Regions from separate parts of the Homo sapiens genome. Here all the other regions are linked to region 3. The links are contacts of gene promoters, found by promoter capture Hi-C in blood cells and fetal thymus (Javierre and others, 2016). All regions are on one chromosome and are shown on one strand. The core of a region is centred on a gene start or on the middle of the fragment in contact, and the rest is flanking DNA. Distances in the headings are between cores, read along the strand shown.

What was found. Contacts are between HindIII fragments. The CHiCAGO score rates a contact against its expected background, and 5 or more counts as called.
Region 1: a contact is called between a fragment that was not itself captured here and the fragment with the promoter of RAB20 in region 3, in 4 of 17 cell types (total CD8 T cells, activated CD4 T cells, non-activated CD4 T cells and 1 more). The highest score is 5.9, in total CD8 T cells.
Region 2: a fragment that was not itself captured here is called in contact with the fragment with the promoter of RAB20 in region 3 in 1 of 17 cell types (non-activated CD4 T cells); the score reaches 5.0 in non-activated CD4 T cells.
Region 4: a contact is called between a fragment that was not itself captured here and the fragment with the promoter of RAB20 in region 3, in 3 of 17 cell types (M2 macrophages, M0 macrophages and M1 macrophages). The highest score is 8.2, in M2 macrophages.

Annotation. Positions count from the first base shown.
Region 1 is chr13:110,904,171-110,906,957 of GRCh38, forward strand. It overlaps ANKRD10 (ankyrin repeat domain 10), which reads right to left. Exons shown (of 6, transcript NM_017664.4): 3 at 1,863-1,954. Among named protein-coding and RNA genes, the nearest start is that of ANKRD10, 9.5 kb to the right of the region's middle. RefSeq lists an enhancer at 2,258-2,759. The HindIII fragment of the contact is 186 bases long and covers 1,305-1,490 here.
Region 2 is chr13:110,873,946-110,876,645 of GRCh38, forward strand. No RefSeq gene overlaps it. Among named protein-coding and RNA genes, the nearest start is that of PRECSIT, 5.0 kb to the left of the region's middle. RefSeq lists a silencer at 724-943. The HindIII fragment of the contact is 4,114 bases long and covers 1-2,700 here.
Region 3 is chr13:110,560,272-110,562,971 of GRCh38, forward strand. RAB20 (RAB20, member RAS oncogene family) reads right to left here and starts at 1,451. Exons shown (of 2, transcript NM_017817.3): 1 at 1,077-1,451. The coding sequence starts at 1,248. RefSeq lists silencers at 1,011-1,070, 1,050-1,239, 1,131-1,580. The HindIII fragment of the contact is 2,254 bases long and covers 1-2,008 here.
Region 4 is chr13:110,138,863-110,141,562 of GRCh38, forward strand. No RefSeq gene overlaps it. Among named protein-coding and RNA genes, the nearest start is that of LINC03082, 11 kb to the left of the region's middle. The HindIII fragment of the contact is 1,264 bases long and covers 686-1,949 here.

The DNA.
Region 1 (2,787 bases), core at 148-2,647, 340 kb after region 3:
GGCTAGGTAGCTCAGGCTAAATACTTCTTCTAAAAAAAATATGAAAGCTCAGTCCAGGGAAGTCACCATAATGCAGGGTCTTGAGTGGTGGCTCTTATACTGAGAAGGAAAAACAGACTGGCACCTGAGCCCATCTCAGCCACACCTGGTGGAAAAGAGACACTTGAGGGCCCTGTAACCAAGGACAGAATTGTAAATAAAAGATTCTCATTTTTTAAAAGACACCTACTAAAAAAAAAGGACATCGTGATATTTATTGGCTGAAAAGATTAAGCTATCCATAAAATGAATAAAACATCTTTGTAATAAAATGTTCAGGACCAATTAGAGTATTATTTAGAAAGTCATTAAAAATATCAACTTCTAATTATCCACTGTTTGAATAAATGACAAGCAATTTAATCATGTTATGACTCCGTATTTTATAATGAAAGTTTGTTATAAAAATTAGAGTTTTAAATCTAACTACAGCTAAGAAAAATGCACAAATAACTTTGCTTTAAAGCAATCCACTGAGAATCATCTCAATGTTCTACTAGTATATAAAACATACTATCAATTGTTTCTACATTACCTTTAGTCACAACTATACATGAAGTCGCGAGAGTCCCTGCAATGTAACAGTAAACAGAGGCCATGTTTATAATACCAGATCACTATATAAGGATCACAGCCCAAACTAATGGCGAATCTTGCCAATAAACTTAACAAAACAGAAGCTAAGCTATTCACAGATGATTGACAGCCTCCGGTACCTACACACGTCGTGCATTAGCCTGTATGGTTTTGCTGTCTAGGATCTATTTTCAATATAATACAGAGTCAAAGCAATGAAATGGAAACCAAAGGGTTAAACTAGTTTTGTGGGTTTTATTTCCTCCGAAGTCTAAATGTTCACATTTCTGATTAGAATAATGTGGTTTATAATTAATTTTCATGAATTATTCATAACACTTAAGGTAAAACAAAAAAGCTGATATTGGTTATTTTGGTTATTATAGCTCTATAGCTTACACTCAACATTTAAGGGTGAAAACCGCATCCATTTTGTTAATGCTGTGAACTGCAGAAGAAAAATTTTTATAATATAAATTTTTAAGAAAAAGTTAATACAAATAAATGTAACAACTAAAATAAATGTATAATGCCATGGCTAATGATTTGCATATAAGATCTCATTTCTAAAAGACTACACGTAAACATTAAGATTGTCCTATCAAAGCATAAATAAGCTAACTGATGTAAGCTGGGCTAAAACGAAAGATATTTAAAAATAATGCCACCAGTACCAGAAGCTTACAGCAAGCTTGAGGTCTTTAATGTAAATAGTCATATTTTACAAGGAACTATCAACCATTAAGTTACAATGGGCTTTAAAACATAACTTTCTCACATCTGCTAAGACGTGGAAATCAAAACCTAGAAAAGTGAATTTTCTTCAGAAACCTTCTGAGCCAGAGAGGTCTGAAAAGATATTTTAATCCAATCCAAGCTTCTTGTTTTGAAATCAAAATTAGGCAAAGAAAAGTTTAAAGACCACAGTGACACAACTAGTTAGTGGCAAAGTAATGGTGGCAAAGTAATGATGCCAAGTTCCAAATCTAATTAGTTAACTGTTCTTTCAGTTCAAATACACTCTCTCGACAAGAATATTGAGGCTGCTGTGAAATTAAACCCCCTCCTCTAGAGATCAATTTAATCCACACAATTTTCCTCACTAACACCAACTGTTCTAAAAGGCAAAATTACATTACTAATTTTGAAAACAAAGTTTTAGGACTTTTGCCTGCTTATGTACTGCCTTTAAACAAAACATCCTCAACTACATCTTTAGCTGGAAAGAATAAACGAAAGACACTTACTCGACGTGAGCCCCATTCGCCACAAGGGCACTGATGCATTCTAGGCTCCCAGAGCGAGCTGCCTTGTGAATGGGAGTTTCACCCTCACAATCCTGAAACAACAAAAAGCAAAATATACACATACTTAGAACAAAACTTCTGACATTTTGGAAGTAATGTCATTAACACAGATCAGAGACCTTCTCATCCTTTTTTGAAGTAAAACATGTTGAGCAAGATCTGAAGCAGAACACAAAGAAATCTATACGTGAATGGAGGATGAGAACGAACCAGGAGGGGCCAAGATATTTGGTCGTTGACCAAATATCTTGGGGCCTCTCCAGTAGTGACAGCGTGATTGCTCTCAACAGTGATTTATAAATCACTTTACACTGGATCTTAGCACGTGTGTTTTATATAAACCCAGAATAAGTAACCAAACAAACAAGCCAACCAACCAACCACACACACACATTAAAACGGTCATCAAGGCCAAGAAATAGCACATAATAGCTGACATATGGTCTCAGCTACCCACTTTCCTCTGTGCCTACCCCAATGCTAACCCGAGTCAACATCATCAATGCCGATCTTGAATCTTCTGCTTTGAACTTGAAGTGGGACCACAACTTAGACAAGATGGCTTGAGGTTCAACAGTTGATCTATTTTTCAGTATTTACTAGAGGGAATATTTACTAAATATTCCCAATCTATTTTCAGTATTTATTAGAGGAAAGGGAGAAGAACACAAAGGTAAAGCAAACCAAGCTTCATAAGAATGAAATTCCTGGTTCAGAAAGTGCAGAGGGGGTGGGGTGGCGGCGGTGGGGAGGTGAAGCACACACAGAGGCAGAGAAAAGTGAGCAGACCCAGGAAAGCCACTGTGAACATCAGCAGTCAACCCAGGTCTACACTGCATGAATGAAACAACCTGAAAGACCATCT
Region 2 (2,700 bases), core at 94-2,593, 310 kb after region 3:
CACACGTGCACAATAGCCACACACGTTCACACATGCACACATATAACATGTTTCACATACACTACCACCCATGCACATCAGCCACACATATAAAACAGTCACACCTGCACACACACAGTCACAAACGTCACACACATATAGCATTCACACATGCACAGCAGCCACATTTACACACATCCACATGCATCACACATTCATACACATCTGCACACACGTCACACAAATCAACATTCATACGTGCGCACACATCATACACATCCACACACATCACGTACATTCACACATAAACATTCACACATTCACACACACCAGATTACCACTCACATCCAATACTCAACGCTTCCCTTCACATTCTCACACATTTGCACACTCACACATTGCCAACGACACACTTCCCTCCACATTCCCCCTACATTCCCACACTGACACGCTCTCACACACTCCCAGTCCTCGCACACATTTGCACACTCACATCCATACATGGACACACATCCTCATGCTCGCTCACTCACATGCATTTGCAAACACTGATACACATCCTCACACGCACACTCGCACACTCAGGGTCTCCCTGGCTGCAGCTGTGCCCGGGCTCACTGTTACCGTTGCTCAGTGCAGACTCTTGGGGTGGTGTCCACCTCCAGCCCCCAGCTCCAGCCGTGCCCTGCCGCAGCCCCCGCTACCCTCCCACCGCCCCGGGACCCCTCACCCGCCCCGGCCCATCCCAACCACGGCCTCGCCCCAACCTTGGCTGCGGTTCCCCAAGCAGAGCCGCGCCAGAACCGCCCGGCTCACCCCCCTCTCCCCGCCCCTGCGCCTCTCTCCCGGTTCCCGCCCTCCTGATGGTTCGTCCCTGCACCCGCGCCGGCGCCCCGCCCCCGGTTCCCGCCCTCCCGAGGGCTCCTCCCTTCCACCCGCTGCCTGTTTCTTGGCTCCCCCTTTCCGGGAAACTCTTCAATGTTTCCCATGTTCTGTCTCCAAATTATTCTCCCGTTTTCTTCTCCTTAATAAAACCCCGAAAATCCAACCTATGGAAAAGTCAAAAAGGGTAATTCAATGAATACCCAGTCTACATTTTCCAGTATTTATCACTAGTTGCTTAGATCTCATCATTCAAAACATTCCAGCAGTTCTCTCACTGTGGCCTGCAGAACCCCAGGGTCCCCAGGACCCCATTTCAGGGGGTCCCCAAAATCAAAACGGTCTCATTACCGAGATGTGATTTGCCTTTTTCAGTGTTGACTTCGGCACTGAGGGTTCAAAAGAAATGGTGGGTAAAGCTACTAGCACCTTAGCAAAAACTGCCCCGGCCTGATCACCTTCATATTCTTCACTGCCGTGCAGTCAAAAAAAAGAAAAAAACCCAATTTCACTTAAGAATGCCCTCAATGCTGTAAACATGAGTAAATTTTGACAGCACACGTTCTCTGTGATGTAAAGGGAAGTGTGCATGAAGGATTTGTTGTGTACAGCTGTCTCCAGGAAAAGCACGGCTCTGGCTGATTGTGCGATAAGTGTATCCAGTGACTTTTTCAGAAACGTCATTTTCATTTGAAATAATGATTGACAAGCTATGTGATTAAAAAAAAAATAACCAGGTTGTAATGCAGTGGCTCAAGCCTGTAATCCCCGCACTTTAGGAGGCCAAAGTGGGCGGATTGCTTGAGGTCAGGAGTTTGAGACAACCTGGGTAAAATAGTGAGACCCCATCCCCCCAAAAAAAAAAAAAATTGCCGGGCATGGTGGTGCACGACTGGAGTCCCAGCTACCTCCAAGGCTGAGTCAGGAGGATCCCTTGAGCCCAGGAAGTCAAGGCTGTAAGGAGCCAAAATCGCATCACTGCACTCCAGCTTGTGCGACAGAGTGAGACCCCGTCTCAATTTAAAAAAACCAAAAAATTAACCAAGTGAGTCTTCTACTTCAAGGAAAACTGACAGTATTTGTGTCCAATGATAAAATTTGAGTTTTTCAGCAAAAATCAGGATGTTGTAAAACTTGTATCCAGTACCATGAGCTTGACAACTTCCAACTTTTGACTTTCATGAGATTATTGGTGATCAATGTTTTATTTTTTTGAGACAGAGTCTTGCTCTGTTGCCCAGGTTGGAATGCAGTGGCGTGATCTCGGCTCACTGCAACCTCTGCCTCCCAGGTTCAAGCGATTCTCCTGCCTCAGCCTCCCAAGTAGCTGGGATTACAGGTGCGTGCCACCACACCCAGCTATTTTTTTTTTTTTGTATTTTTAGTAGAGATGGGGTTTCACCTTGTTAGCCAGCATGGTCTCTATCTCCTGACCTCATGATCCACCTGCCTCGGCCTCCCAAAGTGCTGGGATTACGGGCGTGAGCCACCGCACCTGGCTGGTTATCAATGTTTTAATATTAATGAAAAGTTTCAACATTTGAAAGACTTGCAGAACTCAATTAAAAAATATTTCCCAAGTAATGCATAAAAAATTATGCATGGGTTAAAGGTCCATTCTAAGTGAAAGATGGACTCTACAGGAACGATACAAGAAGCTCACTGATGTGGATCCTGATTCAACATTGCAACTAGCCTTTAAGAAACTACTGTTACTGAATGGAAGGTCTTGACTGCGAGTTGTCCAGGTTCCTGGTGCAGCTGAATAAAGAATGGAACCAAACACACAAAGCAACAAAAGAAGTAAACAACGAAAGAAGCAAAAAAAGCGCAGATTTA
Region 3 (2,700 bases), core at 201-2,700:
AGTCACGATGTTAACTGGGATAATAATAAAAAAGCATCAAAGAAGGCAAAAGGGAGGGGGAGAACTGGAAGTACCTCTGTGAGCTTCGTTAATTCAGTTTTAAAGAGAGAATTCATTATCATCTTGTTTATTCAGCATACTGATACACCCAAGATGGCAATTTAAGAATTCTGGACGGGGCCTTTGGGTATATGACTTTTTAAGATGCTAACATAAAAGAAGTCAGAACTTTCAGAGTTTCAGGCTTCTAAAAACTCACACTCATTGAAAATGTGTCACACTATTTCCAGTTTCTTCATTCACTTACAATATCTTATTCTTTTGTAAGGAGAAGGAAATATATTCCATTGCAATGCTACAATCACCAGTGTTATTTTCCAAAGTTAAACAGAAAGCCTGAATTGAGATCCTCTAAGTTGTACTTTTGAAAAGTCACAAATACTACACAATAAAAATAACTCATTACCTATCTTAAAAATGCTTCCACCGGAAGTCACTCCAACCCAAACCCATATGACGTATCTGAGCCAAGATCAAGCAGAAGATTAACTGTAAAAGGCAGATATGCTCCGGGCTAAGAGGTCCGGAGGCTCCAGTTTTATTTCCTCTCTCCTGACTAAACCCAACAGGGGGGAACACTCTGTGCCTCATTTTACTTTTTCTTAGAAAGGGGCTAATAACACCAGCTCTGCTCACCCCTCAAGTGAATCTCAAAGGATATCATGTTCCTACGGGTACGTGAAAACTGAAAATACCTAACAAAGCAGCCACAGAGGAGCGTCTCTGGTTCCCAGGGCGGCAGAGCAGGAACGCGGGGCTCGGGAGCAAAGGCAGCTTAGGTACACAAATGACCAGCGGGTTCTCTGCAACTTGGGTTGTCCCTGAGGTCACTGAGTGGCTGAGAGGCAGCGCTCAGCCCAACCAGCAAGGGAGGACGAGTGGGAAACCCCGAGAAGGAGGCATTTGCTGTCCGAGGCCGGGACCCTGTGCGCGGCCGGGTGCCCTGCTGGAAGCCCCGCGCCCCCCGTCCCCGGCGGAGCCCCAGGGCGGTGTGGCTCATGCGGCGCCGGCCTCACCTGCGGTGTCCCAGATGGAGATGTTGTAGGAGCGCCACTGCTTCAGGTAGAAGGCGCCGCCCACCGTGCTGACCGTGTCCGGGAAGCGCCGCTCCATATACCGCTGCAGCAGCGACGTCTTCCCCACGTTCATGTCCCCCAGGAGCACGATCTTGCTGTCGGGCTTCCTCATCTTCCCGTAAGAACCCCCAGCGCCCCCGCGCCCTCTCCCCGAGGCTGGCCGGCTCGTGCGCCCTGGGCGCAGCTGGAGGAGCGGACCCCGGACTCGCCGGGACCCGGATTCTCGTGAACGCTCCGGGACCTTCGCCTCCGGACGCCCGGGAGCTCAAGAGAGGAAGCGCGTGTGCGCGCCCGGGAAGGAGCTGGGTGCAGAGCACGGAGCCCACGTCGGGGGCCCGGACCGCGGCGGCCTCGCCTCGCCCCGCCCCCGCCCCCGCCCCCGGGCCCTTTCACCGCCGCGGCCCCGCCCTATCCTCCTCCGCCCACCGCCCCCGTCCCGCCCCTGCTGGACCTCGCCGTTTCGCAAGCATCCGAGTTCTCCAGCCGAGGCTCGGGACTGCTGCAGGGTGGAAAATGAAAGTTCTGAGAGCACCTTCCGCCCCTCCGCTTCTGCACAGCCGGGGCTGCGGTGCGAGGAGCTTGGCCGCGGGGCCCGAACGAGGCGAAGGGGCCGGGGCCCTTGGGGAACCCCCTTCTCTCTTCCACTCTCCCTTAGGTAAAACCCGTGTTCCTCTCACGCTCGACCCAGCGCCTTTCCAGCTGCGGTCGATTTGCTTCTCCGCGTGTAAGTACAGCCACCCTCAAGGTCATTGAAAAAGTTTGCTTTAAATGAGCGTCTGCGGAACTCGTCCTGAGGCTCTCACTGTTACAGATTAGAGATGGGGGCGCTTTCTAGTGGAGGATTTTGCTTTTGCTCTTCTACTTTTGCAAGAAGCTTTTTGTCCTGAAAAGTGGACAGTCATCTCCATTTATAGCTTGGAATGAAAATTTGACTATGGAAGTTGCAGTCGCTACTTGAGAAATATTTCCTCCTTCTTTTTTTTTTTTTTTTTTTATTTTTGACACGGAGTTTTGCTGTTGTTGCCCAAGCTGGAGAGCAGTGCGCGATCTCGGCTCACTGCAACCTCCGCCTTCCGGTTTCAAGCGATTCTCCTGCCTCAGCCTCCCGAGTAGGCGGGATTACAGGTATGTGCCACCATGCCCGGCTAATTTTTGTATTTTTAGTAGACACGGGGTTTCACCATGTTGGCCAGGCTGGTCTCGAACTCCTGACCTCGTGATCCACCCGCTTCGGCCTCCCAGGTCCTCCTTCCGTTTTAAAGGATAAACCTTGAAATGCTTTTAAAATATGCAGCGTGTAGAATTTGGTTAGTTGGTTGGTTGGGGTTTTTTAGAGAAAATGAGAGGTAGAATGGACTCTAAGTTAAACCCTGGGGGACAGTGTCACTCTGGCCGCTGGCCTGGCTGGGAAAGGCGATGAGACCCTGAGCAGGTTAAAACCCGTGTCCTGAAGGTGTCCTGTAAAGGGAAATAGGCCCGTTGCCTCCTTCGTAGGTGCCCTGAGACTCCGACAAGGCAGGAATGCCAAGGTATTTCGTACCTGCTCAGCCCTGGCATGTCAGGT
Region 4 (2,700 bases), core at 68-2,567, 420 kb before region 3:
CCAGAGGCCGGGGCCATGTGTCCACCCATGTGGAGGTGTAAGGAGAGCCAGAGGGAGAGGTTCCCACGTGGACCCAATGGCGAAAAGTCTTGCAGTCAAAATCACTTAGAAACATTCTGCGCAGAGCTGGCTGAGTGTTGGGTGACCAGGTGATTGATGCTCAGGCGTTAAGGGAACAATGGGCTGTCCTCTGCATGCTTTCAGAGCTGGAGGGGCCTTGCCACCGGCAGAAGCAGAAAGATCATTTAAGCAGCACCCTGAACAATGAGTGTTTTCAGAAAGTTATCGAACAGGCTTGTGAAATATTTTTCTCTTGATGTCTTTAAAAGATATTTTCACTTCTCCCGCGTGATTCAGGGTGGTTTGGAAGTGGGAGAAGAAGGAGGCTTGAGATGTTGAAGTTCACTGCAAAGTCCCTCCTTCAGGACTCTAATTATTAAATATTTTCTCTATATATACCTTGTCTATCCAAATGATCATGAACCTGGGATGGAGGATAGGATTTATTACCTTGTCTCCTCCCAAGGGGTCCAGAGAAAGCCATGTGAAATGAGGGGATGATTAATAAACATTAGATTGACTGATGACCTCCACAGTATGTGAAATTGTCTTTTATCAAAGCAGCAGGGAGACATAGTAGAGTCAGACAGGTATAACTCAAATGATCAGAAGGATAAGGATCAGAAGCTTCTGAGAACACGACTTGAAAACATCTCTTAAATCTGGAATAACAAAGGTTAAAGAAGATATGAATTATGAAAAGAATGATCTTAACAAAACCTCAGATACTTAAAAATTACTCTAGGGGACACCTTTTAATATTGCAGAGAGATCATCTTAGGCCCAATAAAACTAAATGCTATTTTTGCATCATGGGAATTGAATATAGGGAATTTGTCATTCAGGTAGAAATGAAGTTGACCACAAAATTATCCTCAGAATGATTTAGACACACGTGTAAAGGAGAATGCAGAAACAATCCACATTGGTATAAAGTCTCCTGAGGCAGGGGCTATGCCGTGACATTGCATCCCTGGACCTCACTCGGGGCCTGGATGAAGGAAGAGATGCCGTGTGCACTTCGTCTTGCATATTTCTCATTTAATCTTCCAGGCAACACTCAGATGTGGGCAACCTTTATTCCATTTGTAATCCAACCCTCAACCTCACCCTATCTATTGCATAACTCCTTTTTAATTCCTTAACCTGACAAATTACAGGTTTCTTCCACAATTATTATTTTTTTTTTTTTGCACAACACTTCTTAAGGACGACATTATCGATTTCCATTTATCCTGTACCTAACCTAGTACTTGGGAAATAATAAGCACGCAGAATATGAATGATGAAGAGATGGATCAGTGGATGGATGGATGGATGAACAGATGGATGAATAGATGGATGGATGAACAGATGAATGTATGTATGGATGGATGGATGGTGGATGGATGATGGATGGATGGATGGATGGATGAGTAGATGGAAGGAACAGATGGAAGGAAGCAGAGAATGAGTAAAAGGATGATAAGTGATACAGCCAAACAGGTTTTCTCTTTTTTTGTAAATCCTTCTCAGTCTATGATTCTGATTTGGAAGAATTACAAGTAAAAATGACCTAATTTGTGCAGATCTCTGAGAGGTTTTATATCTTACCCAAGGTCACAAGTTTGTAAGTGGCAGAGTCAGCATCTGAACTCAGATTTGTCTAGTTTCATGAGGACGACAAAATGACTCTTGGGTTCAGATACAGGATGGGTGCACTGAGTCTTAGGCTTTAAGAATTCTGGTGTAAAAGCGATGGTACCCCTAATGAGTACAAGCTAATGCATGTAATTTAAAGTCCAGTAAGCTAGAGTGAAAAAGTGCATGGAAAGAGCCAGCATACAGCCATTAAAATCGAAAAGCCCATGAATGATGGTTAACTAAATTGGTAGACTATGGTATGTTCAAGCTTTAGAAAAGAGAGTGAAAAGATTTTTTAAATGACCAAAGTTGAACCGTTTCATTCTCTTCCATTTATCACCATCATACTTAAAACCATCAAAACAAGTACTCTGTATTGTGGCTGGTGCCAGTCCCAGGTAAAGTTTAGCAGGCCACCCCAGCCTGTCTCTCCTGCTGAGTGCATGGAGCAGCTATTAGAGGACTCTGTCAGTGAACGGTAGCAGACAGACTGGGGAAGAAAACCAGATTTAGATGTGCCACCAAAGCAGGACAATTTTACCATATTTTTTCTCCAGTTCTCCTGCTGTTTAGCCCAGATATGGCTGCAGCCACAGAAATTATGTGCAGAGTAAGTAAAGACACAATTTTAGAAACAAGGAGTCAACAAGAGGAATGTTAGGCTCTGAAAAGTAATGGGGAGTTCAGTGGGACGGTGGAATGAGGGAAGGAGATCCAGTAAAATTGTTCATGGACTCCTGGACTCATCTTTGATGTGCGCGTGCATGGATCTGACTCTAAACAGCTACCAAACTGAAAACTGCCCACACTGCCCACACCCAGACAGGCCGTTGGTGGGCACGCATGCAGGACAGATCTGAATAGTACCGCAAAAACAGTTCTACCTATAGAAGGTGAATTGAAGCTTGCAGCCTGGAACCTGACCCAGTCATTGGCCTGCAAAGACCCCCAAACACCAACATTTTTCCATAAGAGAAAGGCATACATCTACAGACTCACAAAGCTAAAGAACCCAAT